Regions from separate parts of the Homo sapiens genome. Here region 1 is linked to region 2. The links are contacts of gene promoters, found by promoter capture Hi-C in human tissues and cell types (Jung and others, 2019). All regions are on one chromosome and are shown on one strand. Each heading gives the region's core, a stretch centred on a gene start or on the middle of the fragment in contact. The rest is flanking DNA. Distances are from core to core; before and after follow the strand shown. Region 1 overlaps MIR5689HG (MIR5689 host gene). Region 2 holds the start of TMEM14C (transmembrane protein 14C).

Region 1 (6,896 bases), core at 3,089-5,588, 280 kb after region 2:
AATCAGTCAAGCTCTTCCTATACAGTCCAGCTATAATGTTCTTGTAAATTTTATGTTGCTATACCATCTTTTGTCTTGTTTATGAATACATATTCTTTTTAATGTTCCATATTGCTTAGTGTTGCAGTAAATATAACCATTTTGTTTGTGTCTTGAGTTTCTCATGTAGTGGATACATACACTGAACATTAAAGAATATAAATGTGACTAAAATCTGTTATATTAACTAGAAGATGCCTTTATTTTTTATCTCAAAATATTATTATTTCTGCATTGACTTTTATATAGAAAGAGACATTCTAAAAATTATTGGACTAAATCTAGAATCAATTTTGAAATCATAATACCATACACTAAACAGATGGAAATATCGGCAATATTTGATCAAATACTTGGTGTAATTACAGTAAAGCAATTTACAGAACTGATGAGAACAGAATTACAATTTGTATCAAATTAATGCCCTGAAACAAAACTACATTAATTGTTATATCATGTTAGTGATCTCTGTTGCTACCCAAAGACTAAATGGTCGGGGGAGGAAAAGGGGCAAGAAATTTAATTTCATTTAAATTGTGACAGTGTTCCTATACAGTATTTTATTCACTTGAATGGGTCAAAAGAATACCGCATGCTCAGCCAATTATCTGCTATGCAAAATTATTCTTAATTCTATGTGAGAATTGTAGACAGTGGGTTGAGGAGGTGGAAGTAAAAGCTGCATAGATGCAAATAGTTAAAGGTCGTTATCTACGTACCAAATCTAACTCGAGAAGAAAATCTTAAGATACTGTTTTATAGCTGAATGTGCTTCACCCACAGAGGAGCTCAGCGTTATCCCTGGGCCTTGGAAATAAGGGTGCAATGGACTGAATGCTTATCTCCCCTCCAAATTCATACACTGGTATTCTAATCCCCAAGGTGATGGTATTAGCAGATGGGGCCTTTGGGAGGTGACTAGGACATGAGGGTGGAGCACTTGTGAGTGGGATTAGTGCCCTTACAGAGAGACTGCAGAGAGCTCCCTTGCCCCTTCCACCATGTGAGGACACAGGGAGAAGATGGCTGTCTGTGAACTGGGAAACAGGCCCTCATCAGACACTGAGTCAGCTGAGGTATTGATCTTGGACTTCCCAGCCTTCAGAACTGTGAGAAATAAATTTCTGTTTAAAAGACACCCAGTTTCAGGTATTTTTGCCATAGTAGCCCAAACAGACTAACAGTGGATATAATTTTGTTGAGCCAGTTATAAAATCCAAGTCCAAGTCAAAACTGCAGGCTGATATTAGCTGGGCATGGTGGTGCATGCCTGTAGTTCCAGCTACTCCAGAGGCGGAGGTGGGAGGATGGCTTGGGCCCCAGAGGTCAAGGCTGCTGTGAGTGGTGATCACACCAATGCACACCAGCCTGGGGGACAGAGCAAGACCCTGTCTGAAAAACACAAAAATACAAAAAACTTGCAGGCTCCAAAACTACCTGAACTTCAACCTACCTTCTTTCAATACAATGCCCAGAACATAGTCTCTCTCAATGACCCAGTCAAGCTTAAAAAAAAAAAAAAGAAAAAAAAAGCATCACCACTTCTCTCTTCAAAATCTAGCCTTGATATATATTTTGAGGGGATGCATTCTGAAGTGTGTCAGCATGATACATCGTATCATCTGCAACTTACTTTCAAATGGCTTAGGAAAAAAATATGGTATCTGCTGTCTATTTATCTACCTACCTATCTATCAAGAGATAAGCAAACATGATGAAATAATAACAGTTGTTAAATCCATGTGAGGGGTATTTGGCTGTTTGTGTGCTATTTTTCAGCTTTTCTGATTGAGCTTACTTTTTTAAAAAGGCAGGAAAAAGTATGTGGCCTTGACTGTGAAGACAGACAAGAAACAGCTGAGCCCCTCTTGTTTCTCGATACATCAAAAATGCGGGACACATGGTCAGTGCTAATACATAGTCCTTAAACTTAAGAAGTTCCTAAAAATTAACTTTGCTTGTGGAGTGTCAAACCGGAAATCAGTTAAAACAAAGAAAAATTTGAGATTTTTCTGGGGAAAAAAATTTCATCTTGATTTTCTGAGTTACCCCAGCCCACTGTCCCTGAATACGCCTCTTGTCCTGGTAAAGGGTGTCACCCTTGTCCCCCAGGATCTCTGTTTTTCTTTTGAGACAGAGTTTCACTCTTGTCTCCCGGCTAGAGAGCAATGGCACGATCTTGGCTCACTGAAACCTCTGCCTCCCAGGTTCAAGCGATTCTCCTGCCTCAGCCTCCCAAGTAGCTGGGATTACAGGCATGCACCACCATGCCTGGCTAACTTTTTGTATTTTTAGTAGAGATGGGGTTTCACCATATTGAGCAGGCTGGTCTTGAACTCCTGACCTCATGATCCACCCATCTTGGCCTCCCAAAGTGCTGGGATTACAGGTGTGAGCCACTGCGCCCGGCCCAGGATCTCTTATACAGTAGAATTCTACTCTGTTATTAAAGAGGTAAGCATAAGCTATTCCAAAACCAAGAAAGAACACAACCCTAAGTGCCCAGAATGGTGAACAATTAAAGAGCTTTAACTGCTTGCCAGAGTCTTTATGTTACTTACATAGAAACCTATAAAAGAGGCCGGGTGTGGTGGCTCATGCCTGTAATCCCAGCACTTTGGGAGGCCGAGGTGGGTGGATCACGAGGTCAGGAGTTCGAGACCAGCCTGGTCAATATGGTGAAACCCCATCTCTACTAAAAATACAAAAGTTAGCCAGGCATGGTGGCGCACACTTGTAGTCCCAGCTACTCAGGTGGCTGAGTCACGAGAATCTCTTGAACCTGGGAAGTGGAGGTTGCAGTGAGCCAAGTTCATGCTACTGCACTCCAGCCTGGGCAATGGAGTGAGATTGTCAAAAAAAAGAACAGGCCAAGGAAAATAAATGGAGACAGGGTCTGCATGTACTACAGGTGAAAGAAATTTTCAGAAACTACAAAAAAGATTAGCTGGGCCCGTAGTCCCAGTTACTCGGGACGCTGAGGCAGAAGAATCACTTGAACCCGAGAGGCGGAGGTGGCAGTGAACCGAGATGGCGCCACTGCACTCCAGCCTGGGCGACAGGGCGAGACTCCGTCTCAAAAACAAAAACAGAAACAAAAACCTATAAAAGAGAATAGCCCTGTAAGTTTTTGAGAAGTAATGCATTTTGGGGAAGAGTCATGCTCGTTTCCTCCAACCTCTGAGAAAAACACAATTGTTCTAGATACTTCTCCAGTGTTAATTCAAAGATGGCAGTGGTAATACAAAAGTGGCTGAGTCACGTGTCAAGTCAAAAAGCTAGTCTTAGATATGACTTTAAATTTCTCTTTTTCATCCCTTTGGTCCTTTAGAAACATTCACTGGAATGAGTATTAAAGTCTGATAATTTCAGACACTTGTTTATTCTTTGGCCTAAGTATATACCCTCACGGAGTTTTCTGTAATATTCATGTCAGAATCATTCCTTTATAGTTTCTGCAGTCATTGGTTGAGGAATGTCTTATTCATTTCATTCATTCAAAAAGCTTTTATTGAAGCTCTATGATATGCCAGTGTTTGGGAAACGAATGCAATATAAGAGCCTTCCATTACTGACAGATTTTTCTCCTTGCAACTTCTCTGCCTTCCCACTGCCCCAACTTCATGGGAATACCTCCTACAGAAATATGTAAGTTATAGCAGAAGCTCTTTGTTAGAACTCCTAATTCTAATTCGAGATCAATTTTTTTCAACATTTTATTATAAAACCTTTTAAGCATAGCTCAGAATTGAAGAAACTGTACGGTGAACACTCATATGCTCACCAGCTAGATTCAACAATAAACATTCTTCTGTACTTCATTTACTATTTATCCATTTATCCAGCTGTTTATCCACCCACCAATCTATCTTGTCTTTTTTTTTTTTTTTTCTGAGATGGAGTCTCACTCTGTTGCCCAGGCTGGAGTGCAGTGGCATGATCTCGGCTCACTGCAACCTCTGCCTCCCGGGCTCAAGTGACTCTCCTGCCTCAGCCTTTTGAGTAGCTGGGATTACAGGTGTGCACCACCATGCCCGGCTAATTTTTGTATTTTTAGTAGAGACGGGGTCTCATCATGTTGGCCAGCCTGGTATTGAACTTCTGACCTCAGGTGATCCACCCGCCTTGGCCTCCCAAAGCATCTTGTCTTTTTAATGCATTTCTAAGTATGTTGCAGTCAGCAATACACTTCTCCCCATATGTTCCAACATGCATATCTTTTATTAGAGTTCAATGTTGGTTGATTTCTTCTTCTTTTGAGGTAAAATTTAAATACAAAAAATGCACAGTTTATAAGTGTGCCATTCAGCAAGTTGCAAGGAAGGCCATGTATACAAGCAAGGCAAACCCCTGGTGAGATCCAGTACCTTAAGACTGCCCTGAAAGCTCCCCTGCACAGCTGGTCCCCAACCCCATGGCCCAACTCCCAAAGGTAACCCTTTCTCTGGATTCCCCTGCCCCCACCTTAGATTAGTCCATAGATTAGTTTTGCTTGTTCTAGGATGATAAATATATAAACAGTATGTGCTTTCTTGTGTAAGGCTTCTTCCATTCAGTACAACATTTTTGGAATTCATCATGATGTTGTATGTATCAATGGTTCCTCCCCCCACCCCCCCTTTTTTTTTGAGACAGAGTCACCCAGGCTGGAGTGCAGTGGCACAATCTCAGCTCACTGCAACCTCTGCCTCCTGGATTCAAGCTGATTCTCCTGCCTCAGCCTTTCGAGTAGCTGGGATTGGAGGTGCGTGCCACCACACCTGACTATTTTTGTATTTTTAGTAGAGATGGGGTTTCACCATGTTGGCCAGGCTGGTCTCGAACTCTTGACCCCAGGTGATCCACCCACCTCGGCCTCCCAATGTGCTGGGATTACAGGTGTGAGCCACCGCGCCCAGCCGGTTCCTCCCTTTTTTATTGTGTAGTATTTCATTGTCTGAATTTACCACAGTTAGTTTATTCATTCTCCTATTGGTTGTTTTCAGCTTTCAGTTATTTATGAATAAAGCTATGGACATTTTTGAACAAGCCTCTTTGAGGACATATGCTTTTATTTCTCCCGGGTGAGTAACCTAGGTGTGGAATTGCCAGGTCATAATGTAGGTGCAGTCAGCCTTCCCTATCCGTGGGTTCCACATTCATGGACTCAGCAAATATTCATGAATTCAATAAAAAATCAAGGGGTGGGAGGAAAGGATGATCATGTCTGTATGGAATATGTATAGACTTTTTTCTTGTTATTATTTCCTAAACTGTATACAGTATAATTATGCTCACTATCTGAGTGATGGGATCAATTGAACTCCAAACCTCAGCATCATGCAATACACTTATATAACAAACCTGCATATGTACCACCTGAATCTAAAATGAAAGTGGAAATTATTTTTTTAAATACAGTATAACAACTGTTTACATAGTCTTCACCTTGTACTAGGTATTATAAGTAATCTAGAGATGATTTAAAGTATACAGGAGGATGTGTGTGGGTTATATGCAAGTACTACCCTGCTTTATATCAGATTCCTGAGCATCTGTGATTTTGGTACTTGCAGGGAGACCTGGAACCAGTCCCCTGCAGATACTGATGGACAACTGTATATGTTTAGTTTTAAAAGAAATTGTGGGCTGGGCATGGTGGCTCACGTCTGTAATCCTAGCACTTTGGGAAGCCGAGGTGGGCGGATCACTTGAGGTCAGGAGTTTGAAACCAGCCTGGCCAACATGGTGAAACCCTGTCTCTACTAAAAATACCAAAAAATTAGCCGGGAGTAGTGGCAGGCGCCTGTAATCCAAGCTACTCAGGAGGCTGAGGCAGGAGAATTGCTTGAACCTGGGAGGCAGAGATTGCAGCGAGCCAAGATCACGCTACTACACTCCAGCCTGGGGGACAAGAGTGAGACTCTGTCTCACAAAAAAAAAAAAAAAGTAAATTGCAAAATCCTTTTCAAGATGTATTTTTAAATCGATAAAACACTAACTTAGTATACATTTAGATTAAGAAAAACATTACTATATAGGTTGACCAATGTGATATGGTTTGGCTCCGTGTGGCCACACAAATCTCATGCAAATTGTAATTCCTAATGTTGGGGGAGGGACCTGGTGGGAGGTGATTGGCTCATGGGGGAGAATTTCCCCCTTGCTGTCCTCATGATAGTGAGTGAGTTCTCATGAGATCTGGTGGCTTAAAAGTGTGTAGCGCTTCCCCCTTTGCTCTCTCTCCTGTTGCCATGTGAAGATGTGCTTGCTTCCCCTTTGCCCCATGCCGTGACTGCAAGTGTCCTGAGGCCTCCTCAGCTGTGCTTCCTGTACAGTCTACGGAACTGAGTCAATTAAACTTCTCTTCATATATTACCCAGTCTCAGGTATTTTTTTTTTATAGCACTGTGAGAACAGACTAATACATAATGCTAAATGTCTCAACATTCTCTACTCTTTGGGTGAATATTTGCTTACGTAAGCTGTGGAGAGAAGAAAATTAACAAAGCTAGGGAAAGCTCTCTGGGCCACCATCCACTACTAGTGTTGCCTTAATTATTAATCCTACATCATTTTAGAGTTTGTACTTCAATGGCAATGCGTATTCCTCCAGGAATGGAATGCAGTTTCATCAGAACTTTCTCCTGACACGCCTTGTGGCTCTGAGTCACAGACGTTTTTCTTAAAGGGAGTGTCTTTCATCTCAGGGCCTCAAGCTGCCCGTCATTCCCCCATAGTCCAGAGATCCCCCTCCCCTGTGATCACATTCCAGCTTGCACCCTGTCTCCTCACTCCCTTTCCTTCTATTTCCTGCAGCCACTGCTGAACTACCGCATGCCAGCTCTCTGGCTTTCTAGGGTTTGCCATTTCACAAG
Region 2 (6,429 bases), core at 345-2,844:
GGCTACTCCATACCCATTTACTGCACTCACACTGAGCCAGTGTCCTGCATTTTTCTCTTCTCTGTCCAGACAGGAGACTACCCCAGGCCTGCACCTGCAGAAAACAAGCTGGATCAGAGGTAGTTAAAAGCACAGCTCTCCAGCAGTCAGAAAGAAGTGTGTCCAACCTGCAAGCTACGCAACCTAAGTCTCAGTATTCTTCACTGTACCATGAGGATAACACTGGTACCGATTTCCTGGGGCTGTAGTGAGCATTCAATGGATGTCACATGTAAAGGTGCTTAGCACCTAGTAAACCCTGAACAGATGCTGACCATTGTCATGAAAACCTCAGTTTTAATCACATAGGCCCACGGGAAACTCAGCAAGATCCACTGACCAGCTCTAAAATCAGGGAATGTGTTAGTCATTTCATCAGCTACCCATGTTATCACTAAATTCAAAAGCAAATACTCCCGTGCCCTTAATCCAACTACTTTAATGTCTCTTTTGAGGGGAGGTAGGGGTGTTGCTTTTCATCCCTGCTGCAACAGCCAATTTCAAAGCTCAACTTTTTTAGAAACTTCTGCGTCCAACTCACAGTTCTTGTTAGGAGGGCAGTAGTAGGAGAGGATAAAATATACGGAAACAGTGGTCATATTCACATGTGACACTACACCCTTGGAAAAACAGCTTCTATTTTCTTACAGAAAGTATCCTGTGTCCAGTGAGCCAAAAGATGAAAGCAATGCATACCCCGTTTATTCTGTTTAAAGAATTAGGCCAAGCGCAGTGGCTGACGCCTGTCATCCCAGTACTTTAGGAGGCCGAGGCGGGCGGATCACCTGGGGTTAGGAGTTCAAGACCAGCCTGGCCAACATAGTGAAACCCATTGTCTACTAAAAAATATAAAAAAATTAATCGCGCATGGTGATATGCGACTGTAAATCCCAGCTACTTGGGAGGCTGAAGTGGGAGGATGGCTTGAGCCCAGGAGGCAGAGGCTGCAATGAGACATATTCAGGCAACTGCACTCAAGCATGGGCGACAGAGCAAGTCCCTCCCTCAAGGACAAAAAAAAAAAAAAAAAGAATTAAGTTTCCATAAAACAGGGAAGGGCAGCGGGCTTGGGATCTTGCCCACAGTTCTTAACTCGAGACGGCACCGAGTAAGGGAGGCTTTTAAAGAGATGGAGCAAGAAAATCACCAAGAAACGAGGCAACACTATGCTACATGGGTAAGCCTTTGCCTCAGGAGCCCAGGGGCTCCGCGCATCCACAACTTCTTTTAAAAGCAGAAAATACCCAACGAGAAAAGCACCGACCACACGGCCTGAAGGCCCGCTGAATCGGGGGGACGAAAAGCAGACGGCCGTGAAACTCCTAAATAATCCCTAAAAGTTAAAAGTGGCAGAAAATAAGAATAATCCCCAAATACTCGCACCGGTCTCACGAAGGCCCCGGCTGTCTACAAGGGCGCGCAAGCCGCAGGAATGACTGCGAGGTGTCGCCGGAAATGCAGCGGCGGGCGCTCTCCGTCCCGGTGGCGGGGCGAGGAGAGGGGAGCGGCTCTGTTGTGCCTGCGCAGTGTACCGGGAGAGGGGCGGTCAGAGAATGGGGACGGTGCGGGCGGGGCTTGAGCCGCCAAGTAGCAGCATGCGCCCTGCATTCAGCGGGTGGAGAGTGGGGCGGGGCATCGCGGCGAGCTCCTGAGTCCAGGGAACGCGGCGGGGAATCTCTGTGCTTCCCCTGTCCGCAGCGCCTGCAGGGCCGACCAGTATCAGTCCCAGGTCCAATCCTGAGTGGCCAAAAGCAGGAGACCCGGAGTTGGACCTGGGACTTGCACAAGCCGGACCACGTGAGCTCGGCCACGCCAGAGGTGAGGCCACCGCTGCGGGACCAGGGAATCTGAGGCTGGATTTTGAAGGACCCCATTAATAGAGGAACAAGTTACAGGGTATAAACCAGATGCAGGCCATCAGGGAGGAGTGTCACTCAAGCCCGATCTTGTCTACACCAGGAAGGGCCTGCCTGGAAGAAAATACGGGGGCTGCAGAATAATGTGGCTCAAAGCCAAATATCCGTTTGTTTTAGGGAGTGAGGCTGCTTGAGAAGCATCTTAAAGGGGGATGGGGAGTAAGTTAAACCTGATTTTTACCCAGCTCTGTGGACCCAAAATATCCACAGCATATTATCTCCATTCCCACTTGGAGTCACTCCTATTCCGTTTCCTGCACCACCATTCTCTTAGTTGCTCTACACTAAAATTTGCTGTCATCGTTGACTTCTCCCTCTCCATCCCCTACAAGTATCAACATACACAAATCTGACCAATATAATTGTCAGTGAATAAAGCGAATTCCAGCCAAGTTTTTTTTTTTTTTATGTGGAGTCTCACTCTATTGCCCAGGCTGGAGTGCAGCGTATGATCTTGTCTCACCACTACCTCTGACTCCCATGTTCAACTGATTCTCCTGCCTCAGCTGCCTGAGTAGCTGGGATTATAGGCCTGTACCACCACCCCTGGCTGCCAGGCTAATTTTTGTTATTTTTAGTGGAGATAGTGAGAGATCACAACGTGCCAGTGTGTTCAAAATTGATGGCTTCTTGGTCTGACTTGAGAAAGCTGCAGACCCTCGCGATGAGTGTTAGTTCTTAAAAGCAGTGTCTCTAGAGTTTTTCTTCCGATGTTTAGAAGTATTCAGGGAGTTTTTCTGCTGGTGGGTTTGCTGTCTCACTGGCTCAACGAGCAAAGCTACAGACCTCTGTGGTGGATGTTAAAGCTCTTAAGGCAGTGTGTCTGGAATTGTTTGTTCTTCCCGGTGGGATCGTGGTCTCCCTAGCTTTGGACTGGCTCAAGGAGCAAAGCTACAGACTTCTATAACGAATGTTAAAGCTCTTAAGGCAGTGCGTCTGGAATATGTTTGTTCTTTCCGGTGGGATCGTGGTCTTCGTAGCTTTGGGAGCAAAACTGCAAATCTTCGCAGTGAGCGTTACCACTTGTAAAGACAACACAGGACCTAAGCACCGAGCAACAGCAATATTTGTTGCAAAAAGAAAAAGAGAAAGAACAAAGCCTCCTCCACATAGAAGAAAACCCAAGTGCGTTACAACTACTGGCTTGGGCAGCCTGCTTTTATTCTCTTATCTGGCCCCACCCACATCCTGCTGATTGGTAGAGCCGAGTGGTCTGTTTTGACAGGGTGCTGATTGGTGCGTTTACAATCCCTGAGCTAGATACAAAAGTTCTCCACGTCCCCACCAGATTAGCTATAGAGTGTCCACACAAAGGTTCTCCAAGGTCCTGCCAGAGTAGCTAGATACAGAGTGTGGATTGGTGCATTCACAAACCCTGAGCTAGACACACGGTGCTGACTGGTGTGTTTACAAACCTTGAGCTAGATACAGAGTGCCGATTGGTGTATTTACAATCCCTAAGCTAGACATAAAGGTTCTCCACGGTCCCCACCAGAGTAGCTAGATACAGTGTCCATTGGTGCATTCACAAACCCTGAGCCAGACACAGGGGGCTGATTGGTGTGTTTACAAACCTTGAGCTAGATATAGAGTGCCAATTGGTGTATTTACAATCCCTGAGCTAAACATAAAGGTTCTCCACCTCCCCACCAGACTTAACCCAGCTGGCTTCACCCAGTGGATCCCACACCAGGGCTGCAGGTGGAGCTGCCTTCCAGTCCTGCGCCCTGCGCCCACACTTCTCAGCTCTTGGGTGGTTGATGGGACTGGGCCCTGTGGAGCAGGGGGTGGTGCTCATCAGGGAGGCTCGGGCCCTACAGGAGCCCACGGAGGTGGTGGGAGGCTCAGGCATGGCGGGCTGCAGGTTCCGAGCCCTGCCCCGTCGGAAGGCAGCTAAGGCCCCGCGAGAAATCCAACGCAGCGCCGGTGGGCTGGCACTGCTGGGGGACCCAGTACACCCTCTGCAGCCGCTGGCCTGGGTGCCAAGCCCCTCATTGCCCAGGGCCGGCCGGCCGGCTGCTCCGAGTGCGGGGCCCGCCAAGCCCACGCCCACCCGGAACTCCAACTGGCGCGGAAGCGCCGCGCGCAGCCCTGGTTTCCGCTCGCGCCTCTTCCTCCACACCTCCCTGCAAGCTGAGGGAGCCAGCTCTGGCCTTGGCCAGCCCAGAAAGGGGTTCCCACAGTGCAGCGGTGGGCTAAAGGGCTCAAGTGCCTCCAAAGTGGGAGCCCAGGAAGAGGAGGCGCCGAGAGCGAGGGCTCTGAGGACTGCCAGCACGTCGTCACCTCTCACTAGCAGCCTTCGCTTGCTCTCGGTGCCTCCTTAGCATCGGCCAGGCTCGAGGAGCCCTTCAGCCCGCCGCTGCGCTGTGCGGGGCCCTCCCTGGGGCTGGCCGAGACCGGAGCCGGCTCCATCTGCTCGTGGGGAGGCGTGGAGGGAGAGGCGCAGGCGGGGACTGGGGCTGCGCTGCCCCGGGTTCCAGGTGGGCGCAGGCTCGGTGGGCCCCGCACTTGGCGCGACCTGCCGGCCCCTGCTGGGCTTGATCGGAGGCTGGGTCCAGTGCGTGGACCGCCGTTCCCTCTTGGCGGGGTCGTTGGCCACGATGGCGGGTCTCTGTCTCTCTCCTCCTCTTTTCCTCTTGGTTGTGTGGGAGGAGCTCCCGGAGTGCCCAGGCTAGTTGCCAAAAAGTCCCACCCAACTCCCAGCGAGAGGTGAAGCCCGCTGGGCTTCTGGGACGGGTGGGGACTTGGAAAACTTTTGTGTCTAGCTAAAGGATTGTAAATGCACCAGTCAGCAGTTTTTTGTCTAGCTAAAGGTTTGTAAACGCACCAATCAGCGCTCTGTGTCTAGCTAATCTGGTCAGGACTTGGAGAACTTTTGTATCTAGCCAAAGGATTGTAAACGCACCAATCAGCACTCTGTGTCTAGCTAAAGGTTTGCAAATGCACCAATCGGCACTCTGTAAAATGGACCAATCAGCTGGATGTGGGTGTGGCCAGATTAGGGAATAAAAACTGGCCACCCACAGCCAGTAGGGGAAACGTGCTTGGGTGTTTTCTTGGGCTGACAGAGCTTTGTTCTTTTGCTTTTTGCAATAAATGTTGGTGCTGATAGTTCTTTAGATCCGTGCAATGTTTATGAGTTTTAATACTCACCGTGATAAGGCTACAGTTTTGCTTCTGAAGCTAGTGAGACCACAAACCCACTGAAAGCAGATGAAAAACTGGATGTGCCACCTTTATGAACTGTAGCACTGACTGCAGAGGTTGGTGGTTTTATTGCTGAGGCTAGCAGAGAGCACAAACCCACCAGAAAGAACAAGTAACTGCAGATGTGCCACCTCTAAGAGGTGTAACACTCACTGCAAAGGCCTGCAGCTTCATTCCTGAAATCAGTGAGACCGTGAACCCACCAGTAGGAAGAAACTAGATAATGTCTGAATGTCGGAAGGAACAAACTTTGGACCCACCATCTTTAACAGTTGTAACATTCAATCATGAGGGTCTGTGGCTTTATTCTTGAAGTCAGCAAGACGAACCCACAAAGTCCAGACACAATGGGGTTTCACCATGTTGGCCCAGCTGGTCTCAAACTCTTAATCTCATCTGCCCACCTCAGTCTCCCAAAGTGCTGGGATTAGAGGCATGAGCTGCTTTGCTGGCCTTTGTAGCATGGTTTTTGCTTTTTTTTTTTTTTTTGAGATGGAGTTTTGCTGTTGTAGAAAGTAGAAAAGCTTCTCTTCAAACCTTGTCTTGGTTTAAAAATAGACACCAGGAATAATCACATCTTACTCCAAAGCCTGCTATCAACTGTTAGTTCTTACGATTTAGCCCAGTTAGTTGCTTTGGCTTATTCAGGCATGTCTGGACAGGCCCAAGCAAGTCTCAGCTCATATTTTATGCCCCTTCCTTATTTGGAAATGTTATTATTTCCTTAAACCTTTCATAAGCAACTTAGTCTCCTTTATCCTCCCTTGCACCTAACTATTTAGGAAAGTTTCAGGTTGTTAGCAAATTGGAAATTTAAGACCGAGGTCCAGCACCAGTCAATGCATGCAGGACACAGCAGTAAGGAGGACCCAAATGTGTAAACCCTCTGCTTTTCCTTTGTTCAAGTGTGCTATTGCCGTTGTTCCATCTGTGAGAAGCACCCTTTCTGCAGGAAGTGAAAATGGCCTTGCTGAGAGAATTAAATTTATGTTTGAGTGCTATTTTGTGGTGCTGGGGAACAAGCATTTCTAACAGTTGCCCAGGCTGGAGTGCAGTGGCATGATCTCAGCTCACTGCAACCTTTGCCTCTCAGGTTCAAGTGATTTTCCTGCTCAGCCTCCTGAGCGGCTGAGATTACAGATGTGTGGCACCATGCCTGGCTATTTTTTGTGTTTTTAGTAGAGACAGTGGTTCACCATGTTGGCCAGGCTGGTCCCACACTCCCAGCCTCAAGCAATCTGCCTGCCTGGGCCTCCCACAAGTGTCG

What was found. Contacts are between HindIII fragments. The study calls those that stand out against the background at their distance.
Region 1: a fragment that was not itself captured here is called in contact with the fragment with the promoter of TMEM14C in region 2 in 1 of the 25 tissues and cell types used here (IMR-90 fibroblasts).

The regions. Positions count from the first base shown.
Region 1 is chr6:10,441,231-10,448,126 of GRCh38, reverse strand. All of the region lies in intron 1 of MIR5689HG (MIR5689 host gene), which reads right to left. Among named protein-coding and RNA genes, the nearest start is that of MIR5689, 5.0 kb to the right of the region's middle. RefSeq lists enhancers at 6,391-6,891, 6,892-6,896. The HindIII fragment of the contact is 3,588 bases long and covers 2,545-6,132 here.
Region 2 is chr6:10,718,235-10,724,663 of GRCh38, reverse strand. It overlaps TMEM14C (transmembrane protein 14C), which reads right to left and starts at 1,594. Exons shown (of 6, transcript NM_016462.4): 1 at 1,423-1,594; 2 at 31-94. The coding sequence starts at 50. RefSeq lists an enhancer at 698-1,594 and silencers at 1,534-1,663, 3,908-4,047, 4,378-4,537. The HindIII fragment of the contact is 20,984 bases long and covers 1-6,429 here.